Regions from separate parts of the Homo sapiens genome. Here region 2 is linked to region 1. Evidence: promoter capture Hi-C in human tissues and cell types (Jung and others, 2019). All regions are on one chromosome and are shown on one strand. Each heading gives the region's core, a stretch centred on a gene start or on the middle of the fragment in contact. The rest is flanking DNA. Distances are from core to core; before and after follow the strand shown.

Evidence for each region. The method cuts DNA at HindIII sites, captures the fragments that hold promoters and counts their contacts. A contact is called where the count stands out against the background at its distance.
Region 2: a fragment that was not itself captured here is called in contact with the fragment with the promoter of TNNT2 in region 1 in 1 of the 25 tissues and cell types used here (pancreas).

The regions. Positions count from the first base shown.
Region 1 is chr1:201,376,167-201,380,255 of GRCh38, reverse strand. It overlaps TNNT2 (troponin T2, cardiac type), which reads left to right and starts at 2,576. Exons shown (of 17, transcript NM_001276345.2): 1 at 2,576-2,633. RefSeq lists enhancers at 1-733, 2,070-2,607, 2,608-3,145, 3,550-4,046. The HindIII fragment of the contact is 17,386 bases long and covers 1-4,089 here.
Region 2 is chr1:200,909,078-200,913,511 of GRCh38, reverse strand. INAVA (innate immunity activator) reads right to left here. Exons shown (of 10, transcript NM_001142569.3): 8 at 4,115-4,288; 9 at 1,375-2,059. Among named protein-coding and RNA genes, the nearest start is that of INAVA, 16 kb to the right of the region's middle. The HindIII fragment of the contact is 7,621 bases long and covers 1-4,434 here.

The DNA of each region.
Region 1 (4,089 bases), core at 1,327-3,826:
TCATGCCATGATAGGTGAACTTTTCCAGTAAACAAAACTGTCCCCACACAGAGGAGAGGCTCCTGGAGGCCTTCACCTGGCAGGGCCTGACCGTGGAGTAAGAGCCTAGGAAGACACTGAGGGGCCTGTTCCTGCAGCTGCAGCCTCAGCAGGGCCCTTCATGCCTGCACCCCCCTCCCCTGGGGTGCCCAGTGAGGGCTGACTGCTAGGGGAAATGTCGGGGTGCTACAGCACAGCCCCCTCCCCTGTGAATCCAGCACGTGAGGGCCCTGCCCTCGTTCCTACTGGGGACGCAGCCAGTAAACAAGGAGACCAGGGTGTGCCCAAGATGACCTCAGCTGGGGATAGATGAGTGGTAGCGACTGGGTGTCCAGGCGGGTGGGGAGGCCTCTGGATGGGTGACATTGGGCACCTTCTGGAGACAGAACAGGGCTCCCACACACCACTCCGGGCTGCACCCTCCTGCTGTCTTGCCACAGGGGCCCTGTGCCCCACAAGTGGCCCGTCCTATTGTGGATCCTCAAATTTACATGCACTGTTTCAGCATAAGCCTCCCATTCCACTCTGGCTTTGTTTTCTCTTTACATCCCTTTGAAAGGACAGGGATATAAAAAAAAAATGGGCTAAGAGTAACCCTACTATGCCCAGGAGTGGCTGCTGCATGGGGGCTGGATTTCCTTATCTGAGAGGCTGTCTCACAGCGCTCTGAACGAAGCTCCTGCCTTAGAACAATTCGAAGCCATACACGTGTGGCCTGTGACACCAAGGATCTACTGGGCTTTTCCCATGGGGCTCAGTAGTGACCTAGGTGCCCAGATCCCTCTTCTAGGCATCCATGCAAATAAACCGTGGTCTGTTTGAAAGGTTATTGGGCTTACAAGGAACAGTAACCCACCCTCAAGTTAAAAAAGGGTTTGGGAAAAGTAATTCCGAATTCTACGTTACTCCAGGCCAGGACCCAAGGCAAGGCTGGGCCCTGCTTCGTGGGCTAGAATGGGAGAGAGAGATGATGGGGCTCCCCCCACTTTCTTGACAGCCTGACTCCTTCCTCACTATCCCTCGGGAATCTGTCCCCTCCATCTGCCTGTCTCTCTACAAAGTGCCCCTGCTTCCCTGTGGTGGTCCTCAGTCCCACAATGCTGGCCAGCGGGCGGTTGGCTTCAGCTTGCCCTGCCACAGATGTGCTGGCAGTGTGGAGGCCCACGTGGCAGGGCAATCAAGGCCACTGGACTCAGAGGCCACAGGGAACTATGGAGGGGATGGAGTCAGCTGAGTGATGGGACAAGAGTCTGACAGCAGCATGGGTGTGGAGCAAATGGCAGTCCCCTGCGCAGAGGACCCTTTCAAGGACATTAGTGGTGGAGGCAGCATAGTAGCTCCCAAGGCAGAGGGATTGAGAGAAGAGTTTGAGGACTGGGAAGGCGGGACACATGATTGGGTGATGGGAGAAGGGGGCAGAGAATAGCGAGATTGCTTTCTTTGCCCACGGAGAAACAGAGGAGTGTGGATCATGAATGGGCAAGATCTTTAAGTGCCAGGGGGGGTCATGGAGGAGGGGAGGGCCTGCTCCAGAGGAGGACCATTCCTGCTTCAGAGCCAAGCAGGACCTAGGCTGTGAAGATTCGGAGAAAGAGATGGAGGGGAGAGTCAGCTCAGCTGCTTACTGGCTTGCTTTCCTCCTGTCTCTTTCATTTTCATAATCTACCAAACCCTGCAATGGGCCAGCCTTGAACATACAAGTGCATGTGCATGGTCAGACACAGGCAAGCAAGCAAGACCCCTAGGCCTGACCTATGCATCTGCAATCTAGTAGGTTTAGCAGATCATAGCCCCGCACTGCTTGATTTTAAAGCCGTTAGGGGATGACCTTTGACAGTCCGCATCACCCCTCTCACACAACGAGCGCCTGTTCAAGGTTCTTGACTGGAAGTTCTACCTTGTATCTGGCCTCCTGTAGCAGTTTCAGTCCATTCCCTGTGAGGAGGGTGTGCCACATGGCTTTGGGGGTCATGGAGAAGACCCACCTTGCAGATGTCCTCACTGGGGCTGGCAGAGCCGGCAACCTGCCTAAGGCTGCTCAGTCCATTAGGAGCCAGTAGCCTGGAAGATGTCTTTACCCCCAGCATCAGTTCAAGTGGAGCAGCACATAACTCTTGCCCTCTGCCTTCCAAGATTCTGGTGCTGAGACTTATGGAGTGTCTTGGAGGTTGCCTTCTGCCCCCCAACCCTGCTCCCAGCTGGCCCTCCCAGGCCTGGGTTGCTGGCCTCTGCTTTATCAGGATTCTCAAGAGGGACAGCTGGTTTATGTTGCATGACTGTTCCCTGCATATCTGCTCTGGTTTTAAATAGCTTATCTGAGCAGCTGGAGGACCACATGGGCTTATATGGCGTGGGGTACATGTTCCTGTAGCCTTGTCCCTGGCACCTGCCAAAATAGCAGCCAACACCCCCCACCCCCACCGCCATCCCCCTGCCCCACCCGTCCCCTGTCGCACATTCCTCCCTCCGCAGGGCTGGCTCACCAGGCCCCAGCCCACATGCCTGCTTAAAGCCCTCTCCATCCTCTGCCTCACCCAGTCCCCGCTGAGACTGAGCAGACGCCTCCAGGATCTGTCGGCAGCTGCTGTTCTGAGGTAAGGCTCGGGCAGGGCTCTGGGGAAGAGGAGAGCAGAGAATGGACGGGGAGATGTGAGGGTCTTGGGCCCTGGCATATTTACCCAGAGTCTGCCTGTGTCCGCAGAAGTCCATGGCCCCTCCTGGTGGAGGCCACACTTCAGAGGACAGGTTGCCAGGTCTGGGCTCCAAGATTGGTACAATAGAGCAGAGAGAAAGAGAGAATCCCATGGTAGCCATTGGAGACTAGGGTTGGAGTCCTGGACCTGCCACTAAAGATGTAGAGTTTAAACTCTTGGATGAGTCACTTTCCCTCCCCAGGCCTCAGTTTTCTCATCTGTAGAGTGGGCTAAATATTTGCTAGGCCTCTGCCTGCTCTAAATACAATGAGGCTCTAACCAACAGAGACTCCCCTAAATTGCTTGTTCCAGGCCGAGGGTCACCTATACCTTTCCAGTCAGGTCCTTCTTGAGTCCCAGGGAGCAGAGCGAGACTGCAGCCCTGTCAGTCAAGTGAGTCTCCTGGTCATATTCTCAAGGCTAGGAACTCAGAAACTGTCCTGGAAGTACTGAGAACGACCAGATGTGCAGGGTCCTCTGCAGCGCCTCTCCAGGCCAACGCGGGAATTCCATTTGATGCCGCTGACTCAGTGCCATTCCCTCCCAGAGCTGAGCTGAGCTCCCAGACCCTGAGCTGAGCTGCACTTGGGGGGCAGATGGGGAAAGGCCCCACTGGGAGAACCTGTCCTTGGGTGTGAGCCCAGCTGGTTGGCATTAAAGGGTTTAACCTGGGCCCCCGTAAGTGTAACCCTTGTCCCATCCCACCCCAACACCCCATCTTGGGACAAGCCTTGCTCTGTGCCCAGGAGTGGTAGAGAAAGATTCCCTTGGTTTCTAGTTTCTCCTGGGCAGGCTGAGGACTATTCAGGGAGGGGGTTGCCTGGTGTGTAAGGAATTTCAGAGCACATTCCTGGCCTGCTGTAGCCGGGAAGCTACCTGCCCTCCCAAATTCCTTTTCTGACCCATGTCTTAGAGGGCGAATCTTCCTTCTCTCTGCAAAAGTGGAATCTGAGAGGATCAGGTTGCTGGCTGCCTCCTATTTCTGACCCCCACTTCCACTCTTCCTGCCCTCTCCCCATCCCCTTACCCCCGCTCTCCTGGTGGGCTAACAGCTGTTGGCTTAGGAAAATCCCATTCGAGTGCTGGGGACAAGGACTGAGGGGTGGGGCCTGTGTTTCTCAGAAACTCGGAGACTGTTTCTACAGGGACAGAACTCAAGGCTCTCCTGCTTTGTAGTTGGTTAACTGAAGTCAGAGAGGCTAGGTGACTTAAATAAGGCCACACAGCAAAATCTGGGTTTTAAGCCCAGATTTTTTGACCCCAAGGTCAGTATGCCTTATGCCTTCTATTGTCTTTGCTTTACTCCCCAAGAAAGGTGACCCTGTGAACGTGTTAGGCTTCCAACACGTGTTGGCTA
Region 2 (4,434 bases), core at 813-3,312, 470 kb after region 1:
GGTGGGTAAATGAACCAGGCAGAAAAGCGGGGACAGCAGGCACAGTTACACCATCCTTATCCCTTAGGGACACTGACCAGCAGAAGCAGCAGCAGCAGCAGGCCCTGGCACTCAGCCCCTTCCTCCCAGGATGCTCTCTGTTCTTCAGGGACCCCCTTTACACATTTTCCTCCATGTTCTTTTGGGGTGTGACAGGCGCCCTGACCTCCTCCTCCCCCACCTTTCCTGGGCTCACTTCTCATCACCCTCCCTGTCTGGCACGTTGGGATGGGCTGGGTCTATCCAGCCAAGGACAGGCCCAAGCGCGCAGAAAGGGAAAAGCACGTCAGCTGGAGGGCGCGGCCTCGGACCGGGGCCAGGGTGCTGCCAGGCCCAGGATGCCAGCTGCAGTCCAAAGAACCGTGGGTGGGGGAGGGACACGCAGCTGGGTCTGCTGGGAATCTGGGGTCTCAAAGAAGCAGCTTGTTGGTAACTTCTGGAGCACATCACCTGCAGAGCCCTCCGTACCAGGGAGAAAGAATAAAGAAAGGATTCCTGTGTGTGGCTCCCCACTTCCAGAATGAAGAAATAGGGGCCAAGGAAACCAAGGCTGCCACCCTACCCAGTGTCAGGGTGCTCTATCCTATATACTACCCTCCAGCCTGCTCCCTGGCCTCTGTGGCCCCAGATGATAATAATATCACATATCTAGCGCTTACCATGCATTGCTCTAATCATTTCAGCCTCTTGGCAGCCCTATGAGATAGGTACTCTACTACTCTCATTTCACAGGGGAGGAAACACTAGGTCCAAAGGGGTTAAGTAACTTGCCCAATCATACAGCTCGTAAGTGGCAGAACTGGGATTTGAACCTGGTGGTCTAGCTTGAGGGTGGGTGCTCTTAACTCTGATGCCACCCTTCTTCTCGGCTTGGTGGTGAGGAGGGGTGTCAGGGAGGATGCTGATGCCCAGAAAATCACAGGTTCTGGCTTCTGCAACTCATTTCCTACTCTCCCTTTGTCCTAGACCTTCAAATGGAAATCTGAGGGGCTGATTTGGACTGGACTTTTGATTATGAAGAGGCTTATCTGCTTTGTGCATCATCATTTAGGGAGAGAAAAAGTCTCAGCTATCTTCGGGGATCATCTCCACCAGTGTATATGCTCTTGAGCTAGACATGGCAGGCAAAATTAGGAGGTGCCCCAGGGAAGCCAAGAGTGCCTTCCAAAGCCAAGAGGAAATGATTTTTTGGCCTGTTCTTCCTAGACGGGGATTACCCGGCCACTAGGTTGCTGCTTTGATGCCTCTGTACCCTTGGACATACTAGAATTGCAGCCCCTCCCCAACAAAACAGCCCTCCTGCCTGGCCCCGGGGTCCCTCCAGAGCAGCCGTACCTGTGCCCGGGGTCCCAGGGCTCGTCCGAAGCCCTCTCTCCCAAGGGGCAGGCTCCTGACCCGGAAAGCTCCTTGGCGGTCCAGTGAGTGGGGGCGGGTGCTCCGGAGGCGTGCACGCTCGTGCCACCACTTGAGCTCCTCGGACACGGCGGCCTTGCTGAGCCCCCGGCCTGCCGGGCTGTCCTTCAGGGAGGGCGTCCGCACGATGCGGCTGCGGGAGGGCACCAGACGCTGGTAGCGCAGGGGAGTGCCCTCCTCCTCGTAAGCAGGGCCCGGGGCTGCGCGGCGCAGCTCCCACTCGCCAGGCGGCAGGGGGCTCTCAGCCACCACCACGTACCGCCCCGCCGGGAAATAGCCAGGCGGCAGCAGTAGCTTGGGGTGGTGGGCGACCAGCTCTCTGCTGCCGGCTGGGACCCAGGCCCCGCGGTGACGATGGGTCTTGGGAGGGGAGAGAGGCTGCAGAAAGGAGATGTCGGGGCTGCTGCTGCCCGGCGAAGTGGGGTGGGAGATGCTGGAGACGTCAGAGCCACTGTCTTCTGAGCAGGAGTGGCAGGCGGCGTGGGGCAGCGGGGGCTTGGTCGCGGGAAAGCAGGAATCTGGCACTGTCACCGTGTAGTGAGTGGGGCGGCGGCGGGGAAAGGCGCTGCGACCTCGGCCCTCAGGACCCGCCCGGAAGGAATCCACCCTGAAGAGGGAAAGAGAGGCATTCTGAGTGTGGGGGGCAGAAACTCCACACTGGGGTTGGGGCGGGAGGTGGAGTTAAAACAGGTGAGTCCTGCTCTACCTCAAGGCCCAAGCATGGCCCTCGTGCAAGGGTCTTAGGTCAAGTCTCCCAAAGCAAACCAACAAACCCTCTGCCGGGCTGCGTGGGTGCCAACGCATTCCTTCCCTGTGTGCAAAAGTGTTCCTGCTGCATTCACAAGCTTGTGATTCGTGTAAAGTGTGCTACATCAAGTAGCACATTAAGTACTTTTTTTAAAGTACTACATTAAGTACTTTTTTTAAAGTACTACATTAAGTACTTTTTTAAAGTACTACATTAAGTACTTTTTTTAAAGTACTACATTAACTACTTTTTTTAAAGTACTACATTAACTACTTTTTTTAAAGTACTACATTAAGTACTTTCAGCTTAGGTACACCGTGTCCAGTGGCAGATCATCCACAGCATCTGTTCGGTAGGCACTGCCAGGTACCTTACTTGAACGTGTAAAAGCTGTCATGTGGTACCCAGAGCAGTTACCTGCAGCCCAAGACCGGCAGGGGCTGAAATCCAGCCTTCACTTCACTCTACTAATGCACCCAGGTATGGGGCTGTGTCTGCCTTTTCCTAATTTGCACAAAGGCATGGTTTGTAAAATGGCCCTCGTAGCATGTAAAATATAAAATCTATTGCTGTGTGGTGGCGGACGCCTGTAATCCTAGCTACTCAGGAGGCTGAGGCAGGAGAATCGCTTGAACCTGAGAGGCGGAGGTTGCAGTGAGCAAAGATTGCGCCACTATACTCTAGGCTGGATGACAGAGCAAGACTCTGCCTCAAAAAAAATTTAAAAATTAAACAAAATCCATTGCTTTACTTGAGAGCAGTTGTCCCAAGCTGCCCCCAGTTCAGTGCTGCCTGACCAGCCAATTTAAGCTGATGGAGAATTCAGCAGTGCTTTCATGGTGCCCCAGTCCCCATATGGTATGGCCAATACTGCCTGTCAACGCTTAGCCATTTAAACTATTACCAAGTAGCAGATGACTTAGAAAGTAACATACAGTCAATTCTCATTATTTGCAGATTCAGTATTTGTAATTTTCCTAGTTGCTAAACTTTATTTTTAATCCCCAAAGCAATATACACAGTGCTTTCATGGTCATTCTTGGACACTGCAGAAAAGTGACAAATTTGAGTCTCTTTAAGTTCTGAGGTTAAACGAGGCCATGTTCTGCCCTCATGTTTCAGTTCTCATGCTGTAAGTGCACAGTGTCCTTTTTGTGGCATATTTATGTACTGTGTGTGTTTTTGCTTTGATTAGTGATTCTGCTGTTTAAAATGCCCCCAAATACAGTGCCAAAGTGCTGTCTACTGTTCCTCCCTAAGGCATACTGGGAAAAGGCTGTGGTGTGCCTTGTGGAGAAAATATGTGTGCTAGGTAAGCTTCATCTGGGTATGAGTTACAGTGCTGTTGGCCATGAGTTAATGAATCAACAACCCATATTAAGTAAGGTGTCCTTAAGCAGAAACTCACATAACATAAGGTTATATATTAATCAGTTGATGCAAAATGTCGTGACCAAAGGCTCACGGGAACCTAACCCTATATTTCCCCAGGGGCAAGGGTTCAGTATTTGCTAATTCAGGATTTGCGTCAATTTTACTTTATAGAACATAACTACCACAGATAATGAGAATCAACTGTGCATCAATTGAAAAAGTGAGTTGCCTATTGTCAGTGACCAATAATAATCTACCAGCACAAGGAAACATGGCAAGGGTAGAAAATTTGAATCAAGTTATGCAAAAAGACAAAACTAGAGTCTTTGGAAGAAAACCACTTGCTTCATGGATGGCCTTTGGCTTAGTGGGGTGCAGTGCATTCTCTGTCAAGAGGCGCCCCAAGAAGAGATCCTAAGAGAAGTCAAGGCACTAGCCATGTGTCACCCAGGGTTGTCCCACCTGTGTCCTGGGAGCTCCCACCCTCCAACGATAAGCTCTAAGTGGGTCCCCCATCTCTCTGGGGAAGCTGTCTCTTACCTCAGAGACTGCGACTGGCCCCTCCTCCCCTGTATCTCAGGGGTGGCTGGGGCACTGGTGCGGCCCTGCCACTGGCCAGGAACACCACGGATGGGAACCACGTGGTAGGAGGCAGGCTCCAGAAGCCACAGGCTGGAGGCACTGGGCCCATCCTGTGGTGTGGTGGCTGGGCTGCTGCAAAAGGATTAGAGACAGGTCAGTGGCAGGAATGCCTCCATTCAGGGGCTCAAGAGGTGCAGAAGAATGGGGATGCAGTGGAAGGGGCTCCCAAAGTTAGTAGGGCAAACTGCCAGCACCCTTGGGGAACTATCAAGGCTCAC